3 separate regions of the Homo sapiens genome follow, and regions 1 and 3 are each linked to region 2. The links are contacts of gene promoters, found by promoter capture Hi-C in human tissues and cell types (Jung and others, 2019). All regions are on one chromosome and are shown on one strand. Each heading gives the region's core, a stretch centred on a gene start or on the middle of the fragment in contact. The rest is flanking DNA. Distances are from core to core; before and after follow the strand shown.

Region 1 (4,247 bases), core at 508-3,007, 75 kb before region 2:
CTTATACAATGCTTTGTACAGAGCAAGTGATCAACAAATGGTTATTGGTACTGTTATCACCATTATGCAGACTCTAATTATTTCACTCAGGACCTACCCTGCTCAGATGCTCTGCGTTAATGGGTTCCTATAGTCAAGTGGCATTTGCTGCTGTGGAAAGAGGCCTGGGATGGCATTGTTTAATTAATCATATCTTTATCCAGGTGGCACAAGTCTTTGGTGGACTTTTAGAGGTAAGAAAACCAAACAGCTACTGTAGTGTGGCAGCAATGGAGGCAAAGGAGATTGTTCCCATGGTTGCCATGGGTCAGAGACGGGCAGCCTCACCATTTGTCTGGTGAGAGGTCTCATGCATCGGCAGTGAACTGCAAAGGGCACAGATGCCAGAAACCAGGGAATGTGAGCCCTGAAGCACACACCTGTATCTGGAGAGGTCAATTCATGACACTTTACAATTGGGGCCCTGACCAACGTGAATTACAAAGGGAGCAAGATAATGAGCTATCATCAATAGCAAGATGGGAACTAAAACTAGAGCACTGGGTCTCAAGCTTCAGCTAGCATCAGAATCACCTGGAAGTCTCATTGAACCACAACTTACTGAGCCGCACCCCGAGGAGTTTCTGATTCCATAGGTCTGGGGTGTAGGGTGTAGGGTTACTAGATTTACACATAAAAATAGGATTCCCAGTTAAGTTTGAATCTCAGTTGAACAACATTATTTTTAGTATTTAGGCCCACATATTGCATAGGACATACTTATACAAAAAGAAAAAAAAAAAAGAAGTCATTATTGCTTATCTGAAGCTCAAGTTTTCCTGAGCATCCTGTATTTTTTCTGACAACCTTACCGGAGTGGATCCCAAATGTTCCCATTTCTAACAAGTTCCCACTTAATGCTGATGCTGTTTGTCCAGAAACCGCACTTAGAGAACCACTGGCCAATTCAGACACACCTTCAGCAATTTCCAATTCAATTCTGAGTGCTAAAGGTTGGCGTTTTCCATCCGGGAGGTAAATACCTAAGTACCTTCATATGGTGCCTGAGGACCAGGTAAGCTGGGTGCCTTTGACAGCTCTGTCTGCCTTGGTAAAGGAGAAGTGGTTCTTAAAAACTCACCCCTTAAACTAAGTGATTATAATAATTTCAACAACAGAGCTAACCTTCTCGGGATAGTGGAAATTTGATTTTCTTGGCTAAATTTGTGCAGACTACCACAGAAATTAGCCCTGCAAGTTTTGTGAGTAGGAGATACTGATTTCCTGATGACAACGAGCTGTTCGTTCGCATCTGGCAATCAATCATCTCCTTTGTTTTCCATTGCAGTTTCTTTCTGATTACTACACAGACATTTCCTCCCTCCCTTTGCGCAGAATCATAGGTGATAATAAATGTTCATATGTCTGGTAGGTGATTCTGTTTGCCAAGCCATTGTTTGTTCTTTATAATCAAGCCCAGGTCTGTGAGTAAGAGTTTCACCTTGGTATGAGGGTAGTTCTTGTCATTTATTTTCCAGGCAAGAGATTGCTTTTTCCATGATTGTATGTTTTTATGTGCATGAACCATCCGTAAAGAAAAGAGAATAAAAGCCTGAATAAAAAGAAACCAAAGAGAGCATATTAAGTAAAATTGACCATTTTTTATTGAGTGACAGCTTTATGCACAGGCTGCACTCTGTTGTTATTCCCTGTCTTCTCTCCCTATATTTCGATCCGTGATGGTCAACATCAGCTGTAGAGTGGGTCCACTTGAGCAGCTTGAAGACGCCTACCCTGGGGTCCCCCACCAGAAATGCAAATTTAATTGGTCTAGGCATAGCCTGACCAAGGGCAGTTTTTAAAGCTCCCTAGATCATACGATCATGTTAGTAAACTATTAGGCATTAAAGTTGAACATACAGTCTATTATTATTCGCAGTAGTATATGTTCTATAAAGTCACAGTGAACATCAAATTGGTGACTACTGAACCACTGCTCCTAGGGGAACTGCAGGATTAGATGCCTGCCAGCCCTTGATCACAAGATTTTGGTCAGCTAGCCAGGCGCGGTGGCTCATGGCTGTAATCCTAGTATTTTGGGAGGCTGAGGTAGGAGAATTGCTTGAGTCCAGGAGTTCAAGACCAGCATGGGCAACATAGAGACCCCCATCTTTACCAAAATTTTTTTAGAAAATTAGCCAGAGGCAGTGATGTATGCCTGTAGTCCCAGCTACTAGGGAGGCTGAGATGGGAGGAGGGCTTGAGCCCGGGAGGCTGAGGCTGCAGTGAGTAGTGATTTCAGCACTGCACTCCAGCAGCAACAGAGTGAGACACTGTCTCAAATTTAAGAAAAAGACTTTACTTAGCCAATCAATACATAACCTTGTTTTACATGTGTTTATGTTTAAAGACCTCTTACTTAATTTATATTGTTGATAACATTCATATTAATCTAATGCCTGGAACAAAGTTTATCTAGCCCATGTATTTTCTCCAAAAGGCACATCCCAGCCTTCTTATGCTTAGGAACACTACATAGCACTTCAGCACTACACTTGGTGCTGGCATTTAAAACAGTGAAATCACTCTTCAAAAACATACAGAAATGCAAAATACAGGGCACTAGCTACACAGCAGTTTACAGCACGAGGACTGAAACAAGAAGGCGGGGCCTTGCCATGTTCAGGCTTACTGGGAATGTGCACATCAATTGACTCAAATTTTTCACCTCTCTGCACATGTCCATCAATGACTGTGAAAGTGCCATGAGTATTGATTTTTGAGGCTACAAATATATTTTAGCAAACAGGCAAATTTGCAAATACAGTATCCATGAATAATGAGGATTGACTCTACATGTACCCTCAGACCCAGCAATTTCACTCTTAGAGAAGTGAGAACATAGGTCTACAAAATGATAAGTGTAAGAATGTTCAGAGAAGCTTTACTAGTAATAGTCCAAACCTGGAAGTAACTCAGTCATCCATCAACAGGAGAATGGATAAACTGTAACATATTCAAACAATGAAATACTAAGCAGCAATATAAAAGAACTATCAATGCACTCAACAACACACATGAATCTCAAAAACATTAGGTTGAGCAAAAGATGCCAGACACAAAAGACCACACATGTTATACAGAATTGAAGATCAGGTGAAATTAATCTGCGGTGACAGAAAACAGAACAATGGTTACCTTCAAGTGTTGATAGGAAGGAACATAAGGTCTCCTCCTGGAGTGCTGGAAATATTCTATGTCTTGATTAAGGTAGTGGTTACACAGATGTTATGTACGTAAAAATCCATCAAACTGTACAGCTAAGATTAGAATGTTCCACTTTATAGTATGTATGATATATTTTTACCTCAATTTTTGAAAAAACTGCCAATGTGACTCTAATGTACAGCCAAACTTAGGACAGCTAAGAAATTTTTAGAGAAATTTCTGAGCCCCATGAATGCTCTGGTCATTCCAAATTATGCTGCCAGTTCCACCTTTGGGATCATCCTCAAGTAACAGCCTGCAGGATGAGATCCATGCAACCCAGCTTTTAAAACCAGAAAACCATAGAATAGCAGAGCTGGAAGGAAACTCGAATGTCATCTAGTGCCAAGATGACTAATCAGTTTCATCTTGAGTGCTAATCCTGGCTAATTTGTAATGGCTGCCTGGAATTCTGGATTCAGAAAGAGTCTAAGAGTGTATCCAAATATAGTGGGAAGGACATTGCATGACCAATTAGCAATGTCTGGCTTGTGCACAATCAGGAGAGATATATGTGCTGTCCTTGTATTTGCCCACCAGTCTAGTCCAGACTTCTCCTTTTTCATGCACAGATATTGAAACCCAGAGAAATGACTTGCTAAAGTTCACCTTGGTAGTCAGTGGCAAAAGCAATATTAAAACAAAGTGTTTTCTGAGTGGCCTTATCACTCCATGAGATGAGGTTGGTTGCTAGAAAGGATGGAAGTGGGAATGAGGAACCAAGGTATAATTTTACATGGACTGGAGATGCAGGCCATCCATGGACAAAGACCATGAAACTGGTCCCCTGAATATTCAGGGAGTTCGAAAGGACACTAGTGCAAAACCCAAATTCTATTTCAAAACTATATGTGTCCATTCATTTATTCATAATTTTTGCAAGCATTTTAATAGAAAAAGAGTGGACCTGAATGTTCTTTGTAAACCATAAGATACTTTACAAATACTTGTCATGTTTTATAAAATGCTTTTTAGAAATTATAATAAATATCCCCTGTAAG
Region 2 (3,904 bases), core at 72-2,571:
AGAATAGAATAGTTACAGTCAATACTGAGAGCTTTGGCATGAAGTGAAGCAGAGCTGGAATTCTCTAAGGGTGGTGCCATCAGCATCCCCTGGGAACTTGTTAGAAATGTGCATTCTCTCCAGCCCAGATTTCCTGAGTAGAAGCTCTGAGATGGAGCCCAGCAATCCAGACTTTAACCAACCTTTCCGGTGATTCTGATGCATGCTCCAGTTAAGAACCACTGGCCTAGAACACCTCCCAAGCCCTTCAAGTTTCTTGGAATTGAAACCATCAGAAATTATAATACACCAACAGCACCATCCCCTCTATTGCCTGGGTTCCACCCACAGACCTGTGGTGCCCCATTCCCTTAGCACCCCACAGTCTCATAGTAAAGTTTCCTCATGGAATCAAGTTACCATGCAGAATGCACACCTGCACAATGATAGTTATCACTTCTTTCCCCAAAACATCAAACTTTTTTAGAAAAGGAAAAATGTCTCAAGAACACAATCATTGGAGTATTTAATTCCAATGATCATAATCACCCATTTCTTTACACGTGGCTCTCACCCTGGCATAAATGGAGCATAAAGGGCATAAATGGAGCTAAAAAAAGAGAAAAAGACAAAGATTCTAATTGATGCACTACAACGCTTTTTACTGCTTCAGAACCCTCCCTGAAAATTTACCCATCAACAGGAAAATCAATTAAACTTGAATAGGAAGAATTTGAGTAAAAATATTGGATACTTTTTACTTTAATCTTCAGATTAAGCATGATTTCCACTCGACATTATCATCGAAGAGAAGTTCTTCCTTGGTATTTTTGCATGCTTAAAATTTAGCCCAGTCTTTGAAAACCCTTTCCAGCTTCCAGCTAAGCAGAACCTTGCCACTCACTTTGAACTTTCCGGCAAGGAAAGCCTTCTGCGGGTTCATTTTGCCCAAAACCAGCTCCATAAAGACAGACTCCGGGATTGTAAAGACAGTGTCTGCTGGGAGCCTGGCAGGTCCCGGATACATGTCCCCAGAACCATTCTTCAGATCAATGGTCCACCGCAAAATGGTCTTCCCATTTTTGGTGATGTCCAGCTGAAAGACGGCATTGACTTTCTTGACCAATTGAGCTCCCACTTCCCTGATGTGAAGCCTAATGTCCTGAAACACTGGGAAGCTCTCAAATTCTGACAGCTCTAGAGGATGTGGCATGGCAGGTTCTGGAACTGAACCCAGAACCTCGAACTGGCCCACCAGAGGTCCATCCTCTGCTTTGATCTTGGGTTGATGGTCACTTCTCTTCCACATCTTCCTGTGCTAGTCCCCTGGACCTTGCCATCTAGTCTGTGAGCAGCTGTGACCAGATTAATACCCACAGGTCAGATTGTGACATCAAAGGTAAGGCCAAGTGGGGACTGAAGCTGGTGTGTGTGCTACAGTCTTATTGGCCAAACAAATGATAACGTGTGACCTCAGATAAGGGCTCAGACAGGCCATTGTGAGGCAGATCCACACACACACGCCCCTCCCAAACCAATCAGGGATGTTGGTCCTGCAAGCCCAAAAGGTCTGCAGGCTGCAATGGGGTTAAGGGAAACTGGCCCCAGAAGCTTCTTTAGTGACATGAGCTCTGTCTTTCCAATGCAGACATCTCCTCAGTGAAACCCAACGTGAGACAGAAGTTATTCTTATTCCTCTAAAACTAGGTAACACTTAAGTCCCATTAAGTGGGTAATACTTAAGTTAATACTACAGATCCTAGTGCTGAATTTGGCTTTATCTGGCTGCTGGTAGAAAGGGAAATGCTTTTAGGCCAGAGTAATTGATTGGAGAAGGAATCAGTCCAGGAGCCTGCATCAGAAACTTTCCAGAAGCACAGTGAGACACACACAGAGAGATTAAATGTCCCTAAGATCAGAAGATGCTGCCAGTCTCCTCTGATAATTACACGTAATAGTATAGCCCTTGCTCTGGGCCAAGGTGCAGAGTTCTAAGTACTACACATGTATTAACACATTTAACTCTCATTACAACCCTCTATGATAGGTATTTTTTCTTTTTTTTTTTTTTTTTTGAGACAAGGTCTTGCTCTGTCACCCAGGCTGGAGTACAGTGGCGCGATCTCTGCTCACAGCAGCCTCTGCCTCCTGGGCTCATTTGATCCTCCCACCTCAGTCTCCCAAGTAGCTGGGAATACGGCGTGTGCCACCACACCTGGCTAATCTTTGTACTTTTTGTAGAAATGGGGTTTCACCATGCTGCCCAGGTTGGTCTCAAACTCCTGGGCTAAAGTGATCCACCTACCTCGGCCTCCCAGATAGGTATTCTTTTTATCCCCATTTTACATATAAGGAAACTGAGGGGAGAAATGAAGTAACTTGCCCAATGTCACACAGTTAGTAAGTAGTGTAGCCAGATTTGAGGAGAGGCAGAATGACTCCAAAGTCCACCTGTTTATTTCTTTACTTTTTATTCTGAAATAATTTCAGTCTTATAAAAAGTTTGCAAAAATAGTACCTGTTTAACCTTCTCCCAGCTTTCCCCAAAACTAACATCTTATATAATCACAGTACAGTGATCTAATCTGAGAAATTCACATTGGTTCATGACTACTAACTAATCTACAGACCATGTGAGACCATATCTATTTGGTTGCAGGTCTCCCTAGTGCCTTGCAGTCTGGGGCAGCTCTTCAATCTTTGTCTATCGTTACCTTGACACTTGAATACTGGCCAGTTATTCCCAAAAATGTCCCTCCTTTGAGGACTGCCTGATGCTTTCTCCTGGTTAGGTGGAGGTTATGCATTTGGGACAAGGATGCCACAGAGGTGACCTGTGCTCTTCCCACTGTGCCATAGCAGGCGTCCATGATGTTATGTCCCATTTCTGCCGATGTTGTCCTTGATCACTTGGTTAAAGCGGCTCCTTCAGGCTTCTGCACTGTAGAGTTACTGTTTTTCCCTCTGTGATTAGTATCTTTAGGGGAGGTGCCTTGAGACCTTGCAAATGCCCTGTTTTGCATCATCCTCTGGCCTACTCTTGTTGCATCCATCCATGGCCCATCCCTGCAGCAATCAGTGTGAGGTAGGCCCAGCAGTCATCTTCTATGCTTCTTACTCCCTTGAGATTTAATAACTGGAATTCTGCTCTAAGGAAAATTGCCCTCTTCTCTCCCATTTCTTTATTTGTTCAATTATTTATTTATCTCAGCATGGACTTGTGGGTATTTGTTTATTCTGTGGGTCATAATCTACTATTATCATTGTTTATTTCCTTGCTAAATTGTCCCAGATTTGGCCATAGGGAGCTTCATCAAGTTGGAGCCTGTATCCTTTCCTATACCAAACTGCTCTTATGTGTAAGCAAAGCTCTGTTATATGGAGTTGCTGGAAACTTCGTTCTTTCTGGGAATGTTGCAGAAGAATGAAAAAGGCTTCAAAGTACATTTGCAAAGATGGATGAGCTGCTGTTATCAAAGCTGAGCAGTTAAACAAAGCCCAGTGTCTTCCAAAACCATGTTCTTGCCATGAGGTCACCAGGTATGGACAACATCAGCACAGAGATTTTAAAATGAGGAGGGCAGGAATTCCCCAGCAAGTTCACTATAAGCAGTCAACAAAGAACTGAGCCCCACCACTGCCCGTATCTCATTTTCCTCAAAGACAGCGCCGTCCCATCTAAATTATTCAGGCAGGTCCCCAATAGGGCTGTCATTCTCCTGCCACAGTGTGTCCGAGGGGAATGCAGTTCCACAGCTCATACATAAGAAATCCAAAACATGCCAGGACTCAAGGGAGCACTTCCCCAACGACATTCTTTAGAATTGTCCTCCAATAGAAATAATAAAAGTAGAGACACTGTCTAGTCAGTTTTATTATTTAAATTCTCAACAGATACTACTGCCTTGTTACCTGCACCGTGGCA
Region 3 (3,865 bases), core at 627-3,126, 75 kb after region 2:
TCTTTTATGCTATTGAGAACCAGATCCAGAGAGGACGATGGGGAGTAACCCCAATTAGCACAGCCCTCTGGAGGCTTCTCAGCTCCTCGTAGTGTCATTCGACTCTGTGCTGAGGCAGAGGCACAGACACCACAGATGCAGAAACATCCATCTGACCTTCCCCTCCAACCCTATCCCCTCCCACCGAGAGCCAGCTTTTAAATCACATGTGATAACTATTTAAATGACAGGCACAGCCCACATTTCTGCCAGTGATGTAATGCTGACTCTCTTACAGTATTTATCTTAAAACAACCCAACCACATATGGCTCCATGCCGCAAACTCAAGTTCTCTGTGAGAACATTGTGAACTAACCTAATAAATTTAAGCCTTTTCTGGGAAAACTTGGAATCCAATGCAGCCAAAATGTGGAATTTACATCTCAAAGCAAGAAAGCAGCTGGATTTTTTTTTTTAAGGAAACAAATGAGAAAAAAGAAGAAGAAAAGAAACTGGTACTGCATATGAGCTCAAGCAAAATGTCAACAGCTTTCAAATTAAGAGGAGATGCATGTCAAGGAGAATATAAACCACTACAGGTCTGTGAACATACAATCTACAAACACTGAAATAGAGTACTTCTGGGTTTTTGTCTGTTTGCTTGTTTTTAATCAACTGGCAAGAAAGCCCACATTGTAAGGGAGAGACTGTCCAAACCATGCTGGCTTTAGCGCCTTAGAGAGAAACCCAGCCTTCCAAAAGCTGCCCTGGACACACAGACACCACCAGGGGCCAGGTGATGATCCTGTGGTCAGCCTGCACCTTTCACAGTGAAGCTTGGGAACACGTGTGCCAAAAGAGGGGGGACTGGAATATGCAGATCCAGACTCACCCAATTCATGATTAAATCCACTGAAAACATAAGCGTTTTTCTTTTTAATTAAGATGCCCAAGCTCTAATTGCACAATCTAAGAATGAACTAGTTGAACATTGATCTTATAATGCCTGATTTCAGGGCCTGCAAACTTAAATGCCTTGAGAGACCAGCCAGGAAGCAAAATGAGTTAAGTGGCCAAGAGTAAGACAATATGGCAGGGTGGAGCCTGAGGCCACACTGCAGAGGACAAGCTCCACCTAAGGCCTTAGGACACACTGCAGAGGACAAGCTCCACCTAAGGCCTGAGGCCACACTGCAGAGGACAAGCTCCACCTAAGGCCTGAGGACACACTGCAGAGGACAAGCGCTACCTAAGAACATTCGCACTTTCTTTTCAAACATGTATCTGGACCATAATGTTGATGGGGTGCATATGTGTCACCTGTTAGGGATCCCCACTTAGCATTTCCACCTATGTGACCTTGTTTGCTCTTAATAACCTGATAGTAGTTGAATGATCATCAATGTCCCACAGAGAAGCCACTGCCAGCTGCCTACACCGCAGCTACTCATCTTCCCAGCCCCTTCCTCCCTCCCTGCTGGCAGGAGTCTCCTACTTCAGAGGTGGCAATGTCTGGTTCTCCTGTCACATGGCATGTGACACAAACCATAGCCAACAAGACCTGAGGGGACTGCAGAGGGTCTTTGGAAAAAGGCTTCCCTCCCTAATAAACACAGGTGAGAGGAAACACTGCCTTCCTTCCTATCCTTGGCCATAGTCAGGGGAGGAAACGGAGCTTCGGAATGGTGCAGCTCTCAAAACGAGGAGGGGACATCCAGAGGTGCACAGAAGTCTCTGGAGAGCCCCGGCAGAGTTGAGCCAGCTGAACCAGCTTTCCCCTTAGGGGAGGCAACCAGGCTCCTTACTGTTTAAGCCACCCTCACGTTATAAGCCACCCTCATGTAGGTTTGTGGCACTTGAAGTTGAAAGCAAAATCTTACACCACATGCCCATGGACATAAACAAGACAGCAACGCCCAGCAAGGTCATGTGACTTGCTTAAGGTTTTGCAGCCTGCTAGCGGCTGAGGGGGACCACACCCAGGCCTCCAGACGCCAAACCCCGCATTCTTCCCAGGGAGCCACATGACCTCTCTTGCTTAATCTATTAACTTCACTTAGCAGTTAACTGTTGGGCACTGACTATACCTACTCTAGGTGCCAAGGACACAGCAGAAAACCAAGCAGAGCCCTGCCTTCCTGAGGCTGACTGTCCACTGGAAAAATAATTGGCAATCCCCACTCACACGAAGCCAGGCCTGCTCTAAGCACTTGATGTGTATTAGGGGTAAAGCAGAGGAACCTGGGGGTGCTTCGAGCCCCCACCATTCTGCTGTTGCCCTCTGTAGCCGCACACTTGTCTTCATGGGTAGAAAGCATAAAGGGACCTCAGAGCCATCTCCATTTGCCAAATTAAAGAGAAACTGGTCCTAACCTTGGTCCAGCTCCTTGGTGGTTTAGCAACATGCTGCTGCAGGACTCAATTCGTCCATCCTTTTCTGTCCCGAAGGCTGAAGAAGCCAGAGGATCAAATACAATTACCGGCAACAGTTTAACTCAACCAGTAATAGGGCTGGCTAAGAGCAGAGTGGGGAAGCCTCAGAAGTGACACAAGCCTAGTGTTGGCTCTCTGATGTCCCTGGCACTTGGCCTCAGGAAAGGGCCCTGTGTGCCTGTCAGTGGCAGTGGGAGAAGCAGATCAGAGTGAGGGAGCAGAGTCTGACCCGGGCCCACCTGCTGACCCAAGGCAGCCCAAGGCAGGGGAAGCCCAGCAAATGGGACATGGACACTCAGGACCAAGCCCTCAGGTGATGGCCTAAGAATGCAGTTAGCATCCGCACATCCTAGTGGGGCCACTGGGTGGCCAAAGTATGGGGGGGTCTCCAGGGCAGGCAAGCCCCAAGTTTGGGGAGGGCCAACGAAAGCTGTGCTGGGAGTGGGAGTCAGGTCCTGGTTGGGGGTGAGAAGGCAGGGGCACTCCAGGGACTGGCATCACCCGAGTGTCTACTCACTCCCAGGCACACCGTGGCAGATGGCACATGGCAGGGCAGTGTGTCTGAGCAGAAAGCAACACACAGAGATGACTGAAGACAAGGATGTTAGGGCCACACAGGCAAAGGCAGAAGAACAGAGGCCCAGATGAGAGTAGGGTGACAGGAGGGAAGGGCCGAATGAGGGGCACCCTAGGCAGAACTGAAGCATTATTGTCGGGAGTGGCAGAGGAGTTGAGGCAACACCAGTGAAAATCATCATCAGAGACTTCAGACAGGACCGGCACGGCAAGGCAGCAGGGCAGGCTTGGACACAGGCATTGGGCAGGAGCCCGAGCCACCCATTAGCTGAGATGGACACAGTGATGTGGCTCGTGTGGCCACAGATGAATGACTGAAGAAATGAATGGACAGGACAGGTTTTGTTTGCAAGATCAGGCCAGGCAATAGCCTCAGAGGGCACAGAGGCTCAAGCTTTTATGCCAGCTGAGTAGCAAAACTGAACAACTCTTCACCAGCACTCAGAGGGCATAGGTGTTGGCAATGGCAGGTGAGGGGCTTGCCTTCGGAGTTGGGGTATCTGTCTCTTAAGCAGGCAGCAGGCCACTGGGAAGAAAAAAACAGAGGCTCTTGGGCAGCCAGTCAAGGTCTGTTTTTCTGTACATGATATGCCCAGGGCAAGGAGAGGGGGTGGCTGCAAGGTGCACACGCCCTGAGTCGTGCAAAGCACCAGATCAACAGGGAATTGCGATTTGCCTCTGTTCCTTCACACACATAGCATCACTCATGAAGCACCTTGAAAGACAGATCCCTTCACACTGTGGGATGATCCAGGGTGACGATGACACAGAACATGAAATGAATAAGGAAGTTCAGGCTCCCATGGACACTAATGAGGCAGAGGGCGCACCTTTGTGAACAAATTGGAGAGCTGAGCACTTTGTGTCCAGTTGGAC

What was found. The method cuts DNA at HindIII sites, captures the fragments that hold promoters and counts their contacts. A contact is called where the count stands out against the background at its distance.
Region 1: a fragment that was not itself captured here is called in contact with the fragment with the promoter of SCP2D1 in region 2 in 2 of the 25 tissues and cell types used here (heart left ventricle and lymphoblastoid cells).
Region 3: a contact is called between a fragment that was not itself captured here and the fragment with the promoter of SCP2D1 in region 2, in 2 of the 25 tissues and cell types used here (IMR-90 fibroblasts and dorsolateral prefrontal cortex).

The regions. Positions count from the first base shown.
Region 1 is chr20:18,886,344-18,890,590 of GRCh38, reverse strand. No RefSeq gene overlaps it. Among named protein-coding and RNA genes, the nearest start is that of SCP2D1-AS1, 58 kb to the right of the region's middle. The HindIII fragment of the contact is 4,771 bases long and covers 1-4,142 here.
Region 2 is chr20:18,811,200-18,815,103 of GRCh38, reverse strand. It overlaps SCP2D1 (SCP2 sterol binding domain containing 1), which reads right to left and starts at 1,321. Exons shown (of 1, transcript NM_178483.3): 1 at 726-1,321. The coding sequence starts at 1,288. The coding sequence ends at 818. The region is part of intron 2 of SCP2D1-AS1 (SCP2D1 antisense RNA 1); the gene reads left to right. The HindIII fragment of the contact is 11,706 bases long and covers 1-3,904 here.
Region 3 is chr20:18,736,338-18,740,202 of GRCh38, reverse strand. All of the region lies in intron 4 of DTD1 (D-aminoacyl-tRNA deacylase 1), which reads right to left. Among named protein-coding and RNA genes, the nearest start is that of DTD1-AS1, 40 kb to the right of the region's middle. The HindIII fragment of the contact is 5,840 bases long and covers 1-3,865 here.